2 separate regions of the Homo sapiens genome follow, and region 1 is linked to region 2. Evidence: promoter capture Hi-C in human tissues and cell types (Jung and others, 2019). All regions are on one chromosome and are shown on one strand. The core of a region is centred on a gene start or on the middle of the fragment in contact, and the rest is flanking DNA. Distances in the headings are between cores, read along the strand shown. Region 1 overlaps ZNF432 (zinc finger protein 432). Region 2 holds the start of ZNF480 (zinc finger protein 480).

What was found. The method cuts DNA at HindIII sites, captures the fragments that hold promoters and counts their contacts. A contact is called where the count stands out against the background at its distance.
Region 1: a fragment that was not itself captured here is called in contact with the fragment with the promoter of ZNF480 in region 2 in 1 of the 25 tissues and cell types used here (small bowel).

What each region holds. Positions count from the first base shown.
Region 1 is chr19:52,039,371-52,045,519 of GRCh38, reverse strand. It overlaps ZNF432 (zinc finger protein 432), which reads left to right. Exons shown (of 5, transcript NM_014650.4): 3 at 3,914-4,040; 4 at 4,937-5,032. Among named protein-coding and RNA genes, the nearest start is that of ZNF432, 6.4 kb to the left of the region's middle. The HindIII fragment of the contact is 8,925 bases long and covers 1-6,149 here.
Region 2 is chr19:52,293,241-52,298,849 of GRCh38, reverse strand. It overlaps ZNF480 (zinc finger protein 480), which reads right to left and starts at 1,681. Exons shown (of 5, transcript NM_144684.4): 1 at 1,627-1,681. ZNF766 (zinc finger protein 766) reads right to left here. Exons shown (of 4, transcript NM_001010851.3): 4 at 2,804-5,609. RefSeq lists enhancers at 1,450-1,499, 1,570-1,619. The HindIII fragment of the contact is 12,331 bases long and covers 1-5,609 here.

The sequences.
Region 1 (6,149 bases), core at 1,456-3,955, 250 kb after region 2:
CTGGGTGTGGTGGCGCATGCCTGTAATCCCAGCTACTCAGGAGACTGAGACAGGAGAATCGCTTGAATCCGGGAGGTGGAGGTTGTGGTGAGCCGAGATCATGCCATTGCACTCCAGCCTGGGCAACAAGAGCGAAACTCCGTCTCGAAAAAAAAAAAAAAAAAAAAGGTAAAAAAAGTAAAAGTAGATTCCCTCTTCATAACTTTCTTCCTAATCCTCTTATACTGCTTCAACAAATGTTTGGTAGCACATACTTGCTGTCACTGAAATGTGTGCATCTCTGTATATATGTGTATTTATAAATCCATGTGTTTTATGTATGTGTCTGCATATATAAACACATTTATTATGACTTCTTTTGCTTCAGTGGAATCACATTCCACCTGTTGGTCACCTTAGATCAAGCTTGTACAACCTGTGGCCTGTGGGCTGCATGCAGCTCAGGATGGCTTTGAATGTGGCCCAACACAAATTTGTAAATTTTCTTATAATGAGAATTTTTTGCATTTTTTTCCAGCTATCGTTAGTGTTAGTGTATTTTATGCATGGCCCAACGCATTTCTTCTTCCAGTGTGGCCCAGGGAAGCCAAAAGATTGGACACCCCTACCTTAGGTGGTGTAGTTTTAGAATATAAAGGAATAATCACTGCAATTAATTGAAGAATATTGACTGTATAAAATTCCATTTGTCTAAAGTCATACATGAAAACATTGTTAAACTATGTAAAGTATTTAGATGAGTGCCTGCCACATAGAAACTGATACATGGAGTCCTTTGTGCCTTAAATCTTTGCCAATACTTAAAAATATGACATTATCAAATTATACAATTTTCAATGATCCAATATTCTTTTGTCTTATTTTGCATTTTCCTCATCACAGGTGAGGTTGAAAGCCTTCTTGTGTATTTCTTGGCCAACTGGATTTTTTTCTCTTGTGAAATGCCTGACTTTATGATTTTTACATTAAAAAAACTTTTTTCTTACTGGCTAATGAGTTGCTTATATCTACTATATATTGATCTTTTGTTTATTGCAAAGTTTTTTTTAGCCTGTCATTTTTCTTTCAGCTTTGTTTATGATCTGTTTTTCAATGTAGAAATTAAATTTTTTTTCTCATAAAATTTGTCCCTTTTTTTTCCTTTATGGCTTTTAACATGAATATATTTCGTATTTGCTTCTGCTTCCACAGGTTCTTTTGCTTTCTGGTAAGGACTTTAAACAGGAAAAACTTATTTTTGAGTATGAAATTAGGTAGAAACCTACATTTTTTTTCAAACAGATTTATTTCTCGTGTGAAATAATTCCCGAATGTGATGAGATCAGCAGCATTAAGAATTTGCAGACTTCAGCAAGTCTGTTCTTTTCTCTGTGTATTAATCTCTGTGATTATATGGGGATAGATTATCCCATCAATTTGTGAAGGGGTGGGTTGCCCCTCCACACTTGTGGGTGTTTCTCGTAAGGTGGAACGAGAGACTTGGAAAAGAAAAAGACACAGAGACAAAGTATAGAGAAAGAAATAAGGGGACCCGGGGAACCAGCGTTCAGCATATGGAGGATCCCGCCAGCCTCTGAGTTCCCTTAGTATTTATTGATCATTCATGGGTGTTTCTCCGAGAGGGGGATGTGGCAGGGTCACAAGACAATAGTGGGGAGAGGGTCAGCAGACAAACACGTGAACAAAGGTCTTTGCATCATAGACAAGGTAAAGGATTAAGTGCTGTGCTTTTAGATACGCATACACATAAACATCTCAGTGCTTTACAAAGCAGTATTGCTGCCCGAATGTCCCACCTCCAGCCCTAAGGCGGTTTTCCCCTATCTCAGTAGATGGAGCATACAATCGGGTTTTATACCGAGACATTCCATTGCCCAGGGACGGGCAGGAGACAGATGCCTTCCTCTTGTCTCAACTGCAAGAGGCATGCCTTCCTCTTATACTAATCCTCCTCAGCACAGACCCTTTACGGGTGTCGGGCTGGGGGACGGTCAGGTCTTTCCCTTCCCACGAGGCCATATTTCAGACTATCACATGGGGAGAAACCTTGGACAATACCTGGCTTTCCTAGGCAGAGGTCCCTGCGGCCTTCCGCAGTGTTTGTGTCCCTGGGTACTTGAGATTAGGGAGTGGTGATGACTCTTAAGGAGCATGCTGCCTTTAAGCATCTGTTTAACAAAGCACATCTTGCACCGCCCTTAATCCATTTAACCCTGAGTTTGACACAGCACATGTTTCCGAGAGCACGGGGTTGGGGGTAAGGTCATAGATTAACAGAATCTCAAGGCAGAAGAATTTTTCTTAGTACAGAACAAAATGGAGTCTCCTATGTCTACTTCTTTCTGTACAGACACAGTAACAATCTGATCTCTCTTGCTTTTCCCCACAAATTTGCACCTAGCTCTTTCCTGCCTCAAGTTCCTACTACCATGTGATTATAAGTCATGTTGAGACAGGAGAGTGGCAGTTTAGTTGACAAGAGGGTCTCAATTTATTTTCCAGTGGCATTCAGGGCTAGGCCATACCATACAATTTGCCAATTGCCACAGAATCAGGACATTGAAGACATTATTCTGCACTTTTCTTGCTTCTTTTGTTTCTGTGGAAGTCAGTTGTTAGGACATTTTATTTTTCTTTTGATGGTAATGCATCTTTTCCTTCTATTAACAGTTGTTTGCATAATGTTATATGTGCATCTGATGTTCAATAGTTTCAGTCTGATGTGTCTAGATGCAGATTTTCTGCTTGGCTTTGTTGATTTATTAAATTTGAGTTATAGGATATTTAATCAGTTCTGAAAATTTCTCAGTCAGATATTTGGAAATTGCTTCTCTTATTTGAATATAATATTTCAAAAACTATGTATAGGCATATGTTAGGCCTCACTCTGTCTTCCATATTTAGTAAAGTCTCCTTCATACTTTCTGTCACTTTGTGTCTCTGCTTCATTTTTCAGTTATTTTAATTTTTTGAGATAGGGTCTCACTCTGTCACCCAGGCTGGAGTACAGTGGCATGATCACAGCTCACTGCAGCCTCAACTTCCTGGGCTCCAGCAATCCTCCCACCTCACCCTCCCAAGTAGCTGGGATCACAGGTGTGTGCCACCGCACCTGGTTAATTTTTGTCTTTTTGGTAGAGATAGGATTTCACCATGTTTCCCAGGCTGGTCTTGAACTCCTGAGCTCAAGCTATCCGCCTGCCTCAGCCTCCCAAAGTGCTGGGATTACAGGTGTGAGCCACCACACCTGGCCCTGTTATTTTTTTTACTGTGAATTCCAACTCACTAATTATCTCTTCAGTGTATTTAATATAACCTTTCTGTTAATAGACACATATACCTGTGACTGTATACGTATATATACATAAACATATATTTATATGTATGTGTGCATACATATATATTTAATGTATGTTTCCAAGAATAAGTTTTCCCAATTTGGTTACTCTTTAATAGTTTCTCATGTTTTCTGTACATTTCTATTTTTTAATCCATTTAACAATTAAACATGAATGTAGTATCCTGTGGTTCTAGCATCTGAAGTCTCTCTATGTCTTATGCTAGTATTAGCTGGGAAGGCTTAACAGTGAATGAAACAATTTATATCAGATATCTAGATGTCAGTAGCATATACTTTCTTGACTGGTCAATAGATACCAAAATTAAAATTTATACATAAAACCCGCTTTTACTGAGAGGATTTGATATAAAACCTTAATTTTTGTTGAGCAAATGGGGCACTGTGCAATTATAGAATACTTGGAGATTCTCTGGCAATATTAAAAAATACAATAGACTTATAGATGGATGCAGTCTATATGTTTAATGTGAGCGGGACAACTTCCCTTCACTTTCTTTTCATGTCAGTAAAAGAGAAACACTTCCTATTAAGCAAGGCTCTGTTTTCTTACAGGAATTGCTGACACTGGAGGATGTTACTGTGGAGTTCACCTGGGAGGAGTGGCAGCTCCTGGGCCCTTTTCAGAAGGATTTGTACCGGGATGTGATGTTGGAGATCTACAGCAACCTGCTATCAATGGGTGAGGACAGCTGCTCTGTGTCACCTGGAGGGTGCCCAGTCTGTGGCCTTTGCTTTCTCAGTTGCTTACCCTTGGAAGTTACTGCAGTGCTCTGAATATTAGATTTTTGGCACATCCTCTGGCTTCTGATAAAAGGATATACCGTCACCCCTCAGTGTCCAAGAGGGATTGGTTTCACAACTTTCCATGGATATGAAATCCACAGATGCTCAAGTCTCATATAAAATGGCATTGTATTTGCATATAACCTACACACACCTCCTCCTGAATACTTTAAATCATCTCCAAATTATGCCTGATACTTAATACAATGTAAATGCTATGTACATAGTTGTTATACTATATGTTTTAATTAATTTATTTATTTATTTTTTCTTTAGAGACAGTGTCTCGGTCTTTCACTCAGGCTGGAATGTAGTGGTGCCTTCATGGCTCGCTGCAGCCTTGAACTGGGTTCAAGTGTTCCTCCTGCCTCAGCCTCCTGAGGAACTATGCCTACAGGTGCAAACCACCATGCTTGGCTAATTTTTTTTTTTTTTTGTAGAGATGGAGTCTATGTTGCCCAGGCTGGTCTCCCACTCCTGGCTTCAAATGTTGGTTTCATGTCAGCCTCCCATAGTGCTCGGATTATAGGCAAGAGCCACTGCACTTTGTATTTTTTTTTATTATTGTATTTTTTATTGTTTTTTAAAAAATATTTTCAATCCATGGTTGGTTGAATCCCTGGATGTGAAATTTTCAGATATTAAGGTCTGACTGTAATCTGCCCTTTCCTGAGAGAGAAGCCTCTACTTTCAGATGTGAAAACTGTCTAGTTACTTAAATGTAACATTCTCTCACATTACATACCCCAGCCCAATCCAGTGTGTCTGTCTTCTATTATTTCCCGTAAACAGGTTATCAAGTCAGCAAACCAGATGCACTCTCCAAGTTGGAACGAGGAGAAGAACCATGGACAATGGAAGATGAAAGGCACAGTCGAATCTGTCCAGGTATGTGAGAAGCAGCAAGATGCGTAAGTAATATTATAGTCAGTGAAAGAAGGCTCTGTGGGTGTCTGAGGACACAGAAGCAGTGCCTACATTAGGAATGGGAATCGTTTTCCCTCCACAAGAAACCCTTCCCATCTTATTTTAAGGTTGCATTCTCCTTTAGTACCATACATCTGTCCTGTCTGTGCTGGTGTTGTATTGAATGTCCTCTACCTATGGAGTTCTCTTCTTAAAAGTCTCTACTATTTTTGTTTACTGTTTACCTAGAAAGGACTGTTTTATGTCCTACATCAGTTCTAGACCAAACCAGGTCATAACTTATGTCTGTCTCAGAGTACTTCCTTTGTACATTTGATTTCTACTTTTCCTTTAGTTCATCTTAGACGGTAGCATTGTATTCATTTCCCTAATGTGTTTTTCCCATTATAGATTTGTTTTTTCAACAGCTTAGATAATTTACATACCATACAATTTTCCAATTTAAAGTTTATTTTTCAGTGCTTTGTAGTGTATGAACAGTTATGTAACCATCACCATAGTCAATTTTGGAAGATTTTCAAAGTATCACTTAAAAAAAAAAATTGTTTCCAAGCCCCCAGCCCTAGGCAATCACTAATCTACTTTCTTTTTCTTTTCTTTTCTTTTTTTTTTTTTTTTTTGAGATGGAGTCTCACTCTGTCACCCAGGCTGGAGTGCAATGGTGTGATCTCGGCTCACTGCAACCTCCACCTCCCGGGTTCAAGCGATTCTCCTGCCTCAGGCTCCCAAGTAGCTGGGATTACAGGCGCGCACCATCATGCCCAGCTAATTTGTGTTTTTGTAGAGACAGGGTTTCACCATGTTGGCCAGTTTGGTCTCGTACTCCTGACCTCGTGACCCACCTGCCTCGGCCTCCCAAAGTGCTGGGATTACAGGTGTGAGCCACCGTGCCTGGCCTCTACTTTTTATCCCTATAGATTTGCCTGTTCTGGACATTTTATATAAATAGAATCATGAAATATATGGTCTTTTGTGTCCGGCTTCTTTCATTTAGCATAATGTTTTTGAAATTCTTCCATTCTTTAGCATGTATCAGTGCTTAATTTCTTTTTATTGTTGAATAATATTCCATTGTATG
Region 2 (5,609 bases), core at 432-2,931:
TTTCTCTAGCTTTTTTCCCCCTTTATTTTTCCCCTAAGATTCTGCTCATTTTGAGCCCCTCTCTTCTCCTGATGTTTCTCCCCTTCTTCCTTCTATTCCTTCTCTTCCACCTGTTCTGCTCCATTCTGGCAACTTGTTTCACCCCTCTTCCAAACTTTCTGCTCAATCTTTGATCATCCCATTCTCCACCTATTTGTCTCTTTTTTTTTTTTTTCCCTGAGACGGAGTTTTGCTCTTGTCGCCCAGCCTGGAGTGCAATGGCGCAATCTCAGCTCACTGCAACCTCCGCCTCCCGGGTTCAAGCAATTCTCCTGCCTCAGCCTCCTGAGTAGCTGGGATTACACGCGCGCGCTGACGCCCGGCTAATTTTTGCATTTTTAGTAGAGATGGGGTTTCACCATGTTGCCCACGCTGGTCTCAAACTCCTGACCTCACGTGATCCACCCACCTTGGCCTCCCAAAGTGCTGGGATTACAGGCGTGAGCCACTGTGCCCGGTCTTGCCTCTTCCCCTGACTCTACTCCCCCTCTGCTCTCTCTGTTAAATCCCTTCTTTTCTGTTACACCCCCTTGTCCCCACTCTCTGGCACCCTGAGATCCCAGGCCTCCACCTGCTGTGGTTCTCCCTCTGCTCTCGTTGTCACCAGCTGACTCCTCTTGCTGTCCCAGCACCACGCTGCTCTGTCTGCCCTGGCTCCAAATCCCTCCCCCTCTCCCCCACTCTCAAACTGAGGAACTTCCCACTTTGCTGCCCCTCTCACTATCTTGCTGTCCTTCATCTCTCCGGAGATGGAACTTTTCTCTGCATTTCTCCAGTTGCTTTTTTCCCCCTGCTACTTTCTCGGCTTCATTCGCTGTCTCTGCAAATCCTCCATCCACTCTCTACTTTGCCATCTGCTTACGGCTCTCCCTCAATCTTCTTTTCTCCTTCAAAATTTTTCTCTTTCTTCTCCCTCGCTCTCCGTCTCTCTTTCTGCACACATTCACATGGAAGGAATTGGGATCCGATGTCCACAAGCAGAACACCTTTTCAGTGGGGTGTTATTTGGCCCGCAAGAACACTGGATGTCAAGAGACAGAGTAAGTCACCTCCCCACACGCAGGGTTAGGAGAAGCGGTGTCTGGGAAGAGGAGGCCTGGGGAGTAGCGGGGCCCCGTATCAAGGAGGGTAAAGGTAGGGTCTGGATCAAGAGATGGGTGGCGTCTGCAGAATCCCAGCACTGGGCAGAAGACGCGGCTTCTCCTGGATTGAGATTGGAGCGCTGTGCTCCAGGGCCAACAAAGGCGAGGCTTGGGGGACCGCATAGACCGGAATCCGCCTAGCGGGGGAGGACTTTACGCTGTGCGGGGCGGATGTAAGCATCACTGAAGGACTTGAAACAGGAAAACTCCGCGACAGGAGGTGACTACATGGCCCTGTGGCAGAAGGACGGGGGACAGGACCCGCCGCCGAGCGATTTAAACACACAGGGAAGCGACCGCCTGACTCTCACGGAGACGCCTGAATTTGGTCGGGGTAGAGGGAGCGGTGCGAGGATTTCAAGGTCTGTGTGGCCCCTCAGATCCCGGGTACAGAAGCGCGGGGGAGTTGGGAAGCGCAGATTAATTTACACAAAGGGAAACTCACGCGCCGCGGCGTGACCTTCACTCCACGCGATCCGCTTCCGGGTTTGTGGGAAACTGCGCGCGCAGCGGAGGGGTCCGAGCGGGGCGGGGGCGGGGGCGGGGGCGGGGGCGGGGGCGGGGGCGGGGGCGGGGGCGGGGGCGGGGGCGGGGGCGGGGGCGGGGGCGGGGGCGGGGCGGAGTGGGGCTTGCGCTTCCCTCCGCCTCGCTTCCAGTGCCTCTGTTTTCCGGGTTTTGCCGGGGAGACCTGTCAAGGAGACTGGAGCAACTCAGCTGTCTCGGAACTGTACTCTTGCCGGGACTGAGCAAAGTCGGCTAATGATTAGATCCAGGAAAATTCCTGCTATTAAAGTTAATCTTAAGCCGACCGTGCGGTCGGGCACCTGTAGTCCCGGCTACCCCGAAGACTGAGGCGGGAGGATCGCTTGAGCCCAGGAGTTCGAGTTTACACTGAGTTATGACGGCCACTGCACTCCAGCTTGGGCGACAGAGACTCAGTCTCTCAAATAAATACATAAAAAACTAAATTTAGCAATTTAATTAAGCCCTGGGATTGTCTGTGAAAGCGACGCAAGTTAATACATGAACTGCAAAGCCCTGCCTGGGCAGAATGTGCAATTTCATGCTGACGGCCCACAAAGCAGAATAGAAATCCTCTCCTTTTCTATTCCCTGTTCTTTCGGGAGGGACAGAGGTAACCCTGTGCTCAGCTCCAGAGAGTTTTCTAGTGACAGCACCAGGGGCATGGAGGGCTAAGGCCAGTGAGAATTTAGGTCACCAATTGTTGGTTTTAAAAAAGCATTAACCGGGCGAGGTGGCTCACACCTGTAATCCCAGCACTTTGGGAGGTCAAGGCAGGTGGATCATTTGAGGTCAGGAGTTCGAGACCAGCCTGGCCAACACGGTAAAACCCCATCTCTACTAAAAATACAAAAATTAGCTGGGCATGGTGGCATACGCGTGTAATCCCAGCTACTCAGGAAGCTGAGGCAGGAGAATCGCTTGAACCTGGGAGGCGGAGGTTGCAGTGAGCTGAGATTGTGCCACTGCACTCCAGACCAGGCAACAGAACAAGACTCTGTCTCAAAAAAAAAAAAAAAAAGTCAAAAAATATGTTAATTTAACATTCTCAGGATTTTAAAACTACAAAATGCTGATGAAAGAAATCAAAGACACCCAGATAGAGACATATACAATATCAATTTATTGATAAACTCAACATAGAAAAAAATGTGAAATTACCCCAAATTGATACACAGGGTTAATATATTTACTATCAAGGCACTTCGTAGATACTGACAAGATTATCCAAACAATTATGTAGAAAAGCAAAAAACAAAACAAACCAACAGAAATCCCAAAAAACCTGGAATAGCTCAAACATCTGAAAAAAAAGATAGAGCAGCATGCTCCCGGGAGGTGAAGGTTGCAGTGAGCTGAGATCACTCCATTGCACTCCAGCTTAGGCAACAAGAGTGAAACTCCATCTCAAAAAAATAAATAATAAAATAAATAAATAAAATAAAGATAAAGGGTTGGAATCACTTCACGTTACTTCAAGTCCTCTAATATAGTGAAAGCATTTTTTCCTTTTTCATATTTACAATAAAACGTTTATACCTGCCATTGTCTTGTGCATACTCTTGTCAAAAAATATTGTCTCCAAACAACAGTCTCATTTTTGTGTCCCCTAAAATTTTCACTAGAGTGACATTCGGAAAAAATGTATTAAGCATAGCATCTGGCCGGGCATGGTGGCTCATGCCTGTAATCCCAACACTTTGGGAGGCCGAAGCGGGTGGATCACCTGAAGTCAGGAGTTCAAGACCATGCCTGGCCAACATGGTGAAACCCCATCTCTATTACAAATACAAAAATTAGCCAGGTGTGGTGATGGTGCATGTCTGTAATCCCAGCTATTCGGGAGGCCGAGGCAGGAGAATCACTTGAGCCTGGGAGGCGGAGGCTGCAATGAGCCAAGATCACACCGCTGCACTCCAGCCTGGGTGACAGAGCAAGACTCTGTCTCAAAAAAAAAAACAAACAAGCATAGCATCTGGATGCAATGTACAGAAAAAGAAAAAAGTAAAAAAAAAATATTATATATGTGTCTATACGTGCATATATAAACACAAAATATAATTTTATTAGAGTTGAAAATGAACCATGGAATATATTGCTTGATGCTGTAACGGGAAAATGACATTTCCATAGCTTTTGGAAAAATGCTCTTCTAGTAATATCATATTTATAACAAATATATTTTAATCATATTATATAATACATTATATTTATTATAAACCCACACACTAATTTTCATTGTCTACTATAAAAAGTATCTTAGGCAATTTTACTAAAAAAATTTCACAAGTGTTTTCAACAATCATATTGTGCAATGAGACCTGTATCTGTAACTATAAAAGGAACGTAAGATATTATCATGAAGAAAATCAGAGTCTTTCCTAACCAAGATGGCAGGAGCTTCCAGAGGAAGCTAGAGTTGTCCTAGAGTTGACTGCATTTTGTGATGTCTGAACACCAACGCCTTTTACACCTCTGCACTCCCTCTTCCTATTCTGCCCATCTGGTCAACTGAAAAATCCTCAGTGCCCACTCCTTTGGCACCAGCTGAAAGTTCAAACCACAAGTGGGCACCCCTGCCCAAGCCCTATCCCTTAACAATCATCATACCCCAAGCCAGTCACCTATGCCGATTCCCTAGTCATATTTGGACCAACCGGGGAAGTCTACCCTGCTCTCCCCAGAAAGCCTCATTATGGAGTAAACATTTTGAGATCACATTAGTGAATGGCATCATCATTCTCAATACCCAAACCAAACTTCAGGTGGATGTCAAAGCAGTTCCAGAAGAATGATCAAAAGTTCAAATTACCAAAAAGGTTATAAGGGTGAAAATGTGAAGTTTCTAGTTAATCTACCAAAGCAAAACGAAATTCCCAATCTGTGTGTTCATCCTCAAGAGAACATTTCTGAACATTAATATTTTTTCAAATTATGTCACTGAGCGCTACGAGGTCAACAGCAAGATTGTTACAATATTTTCATCCTGAAGTCCACACTTTGTCCTATTTTCCATATTACTGTATCTGTATTTTCGCTTCCTGAAAATGAAGGTGCCTGCCATGGGTCTTACTTGGCACACAAGAAAAAGGCACACAGAAACATAATACAGTGCATGTTTATCAACAGTGATGAACATTGAGGGCATATGATGATGAAGCTGCACTGTTATGTGATTTTCACTTTACCCACAAAAGCATCTTAGGGCAGAGTAGAGAGGTAGGCCAAGTGTGGTGGCTCATGCCTATAATCCCAGCACTTTGGGAGGCCGAGGTGGGCAGATCACCTGAGGTCAGGAGTTCGAGACCAGCCTCACCAATATGGAGAAACCCTGTCTCTACTAAAAAAACAAAATTAGCTGGGCATGGTGGCACATGCATGTAATCCCAGCTACTCGGGAGGCTGAGGCAGGAGAATCACTTGAACCTGGAAGGCGGAGGTTGCGGTGAGCCGAGATCACACCATTGCACTCCAGCCTGGGAAACAAGAGCGAAACTCCATCTCAAAACAAAACAAAACAAACAAAAAACAAAAACAAAGAGTAGAGAGAATAACTTAAGTACTAAGTATTATTACCCAAAATCATACTTACCCAAGTGTATATACCCAAAAGTGCATGTCATTTCATTTCACACACAAAATTGTTGTGGATGCTTCAACCTTAAAAATCCTGGCCAGGCGCCGTGGCTCATGCCTGTAATCTTAGCACTTCGGGAACCCGAGGTGGCTGGATCACCCGAGGTCAGGACTTCGAGACCGGCCTGGCCAACATGGTGAAACCCCATCTCTACTAAAAATACAAAAAAATTAGCCGGGTATGGTGGTGCATGCCTGTAATCCAGCTACTTGGGAGGTGTAGACAGGAGAATCACTTGAACCCGGGAGGCAGAGGATGCAGTGAGCCAA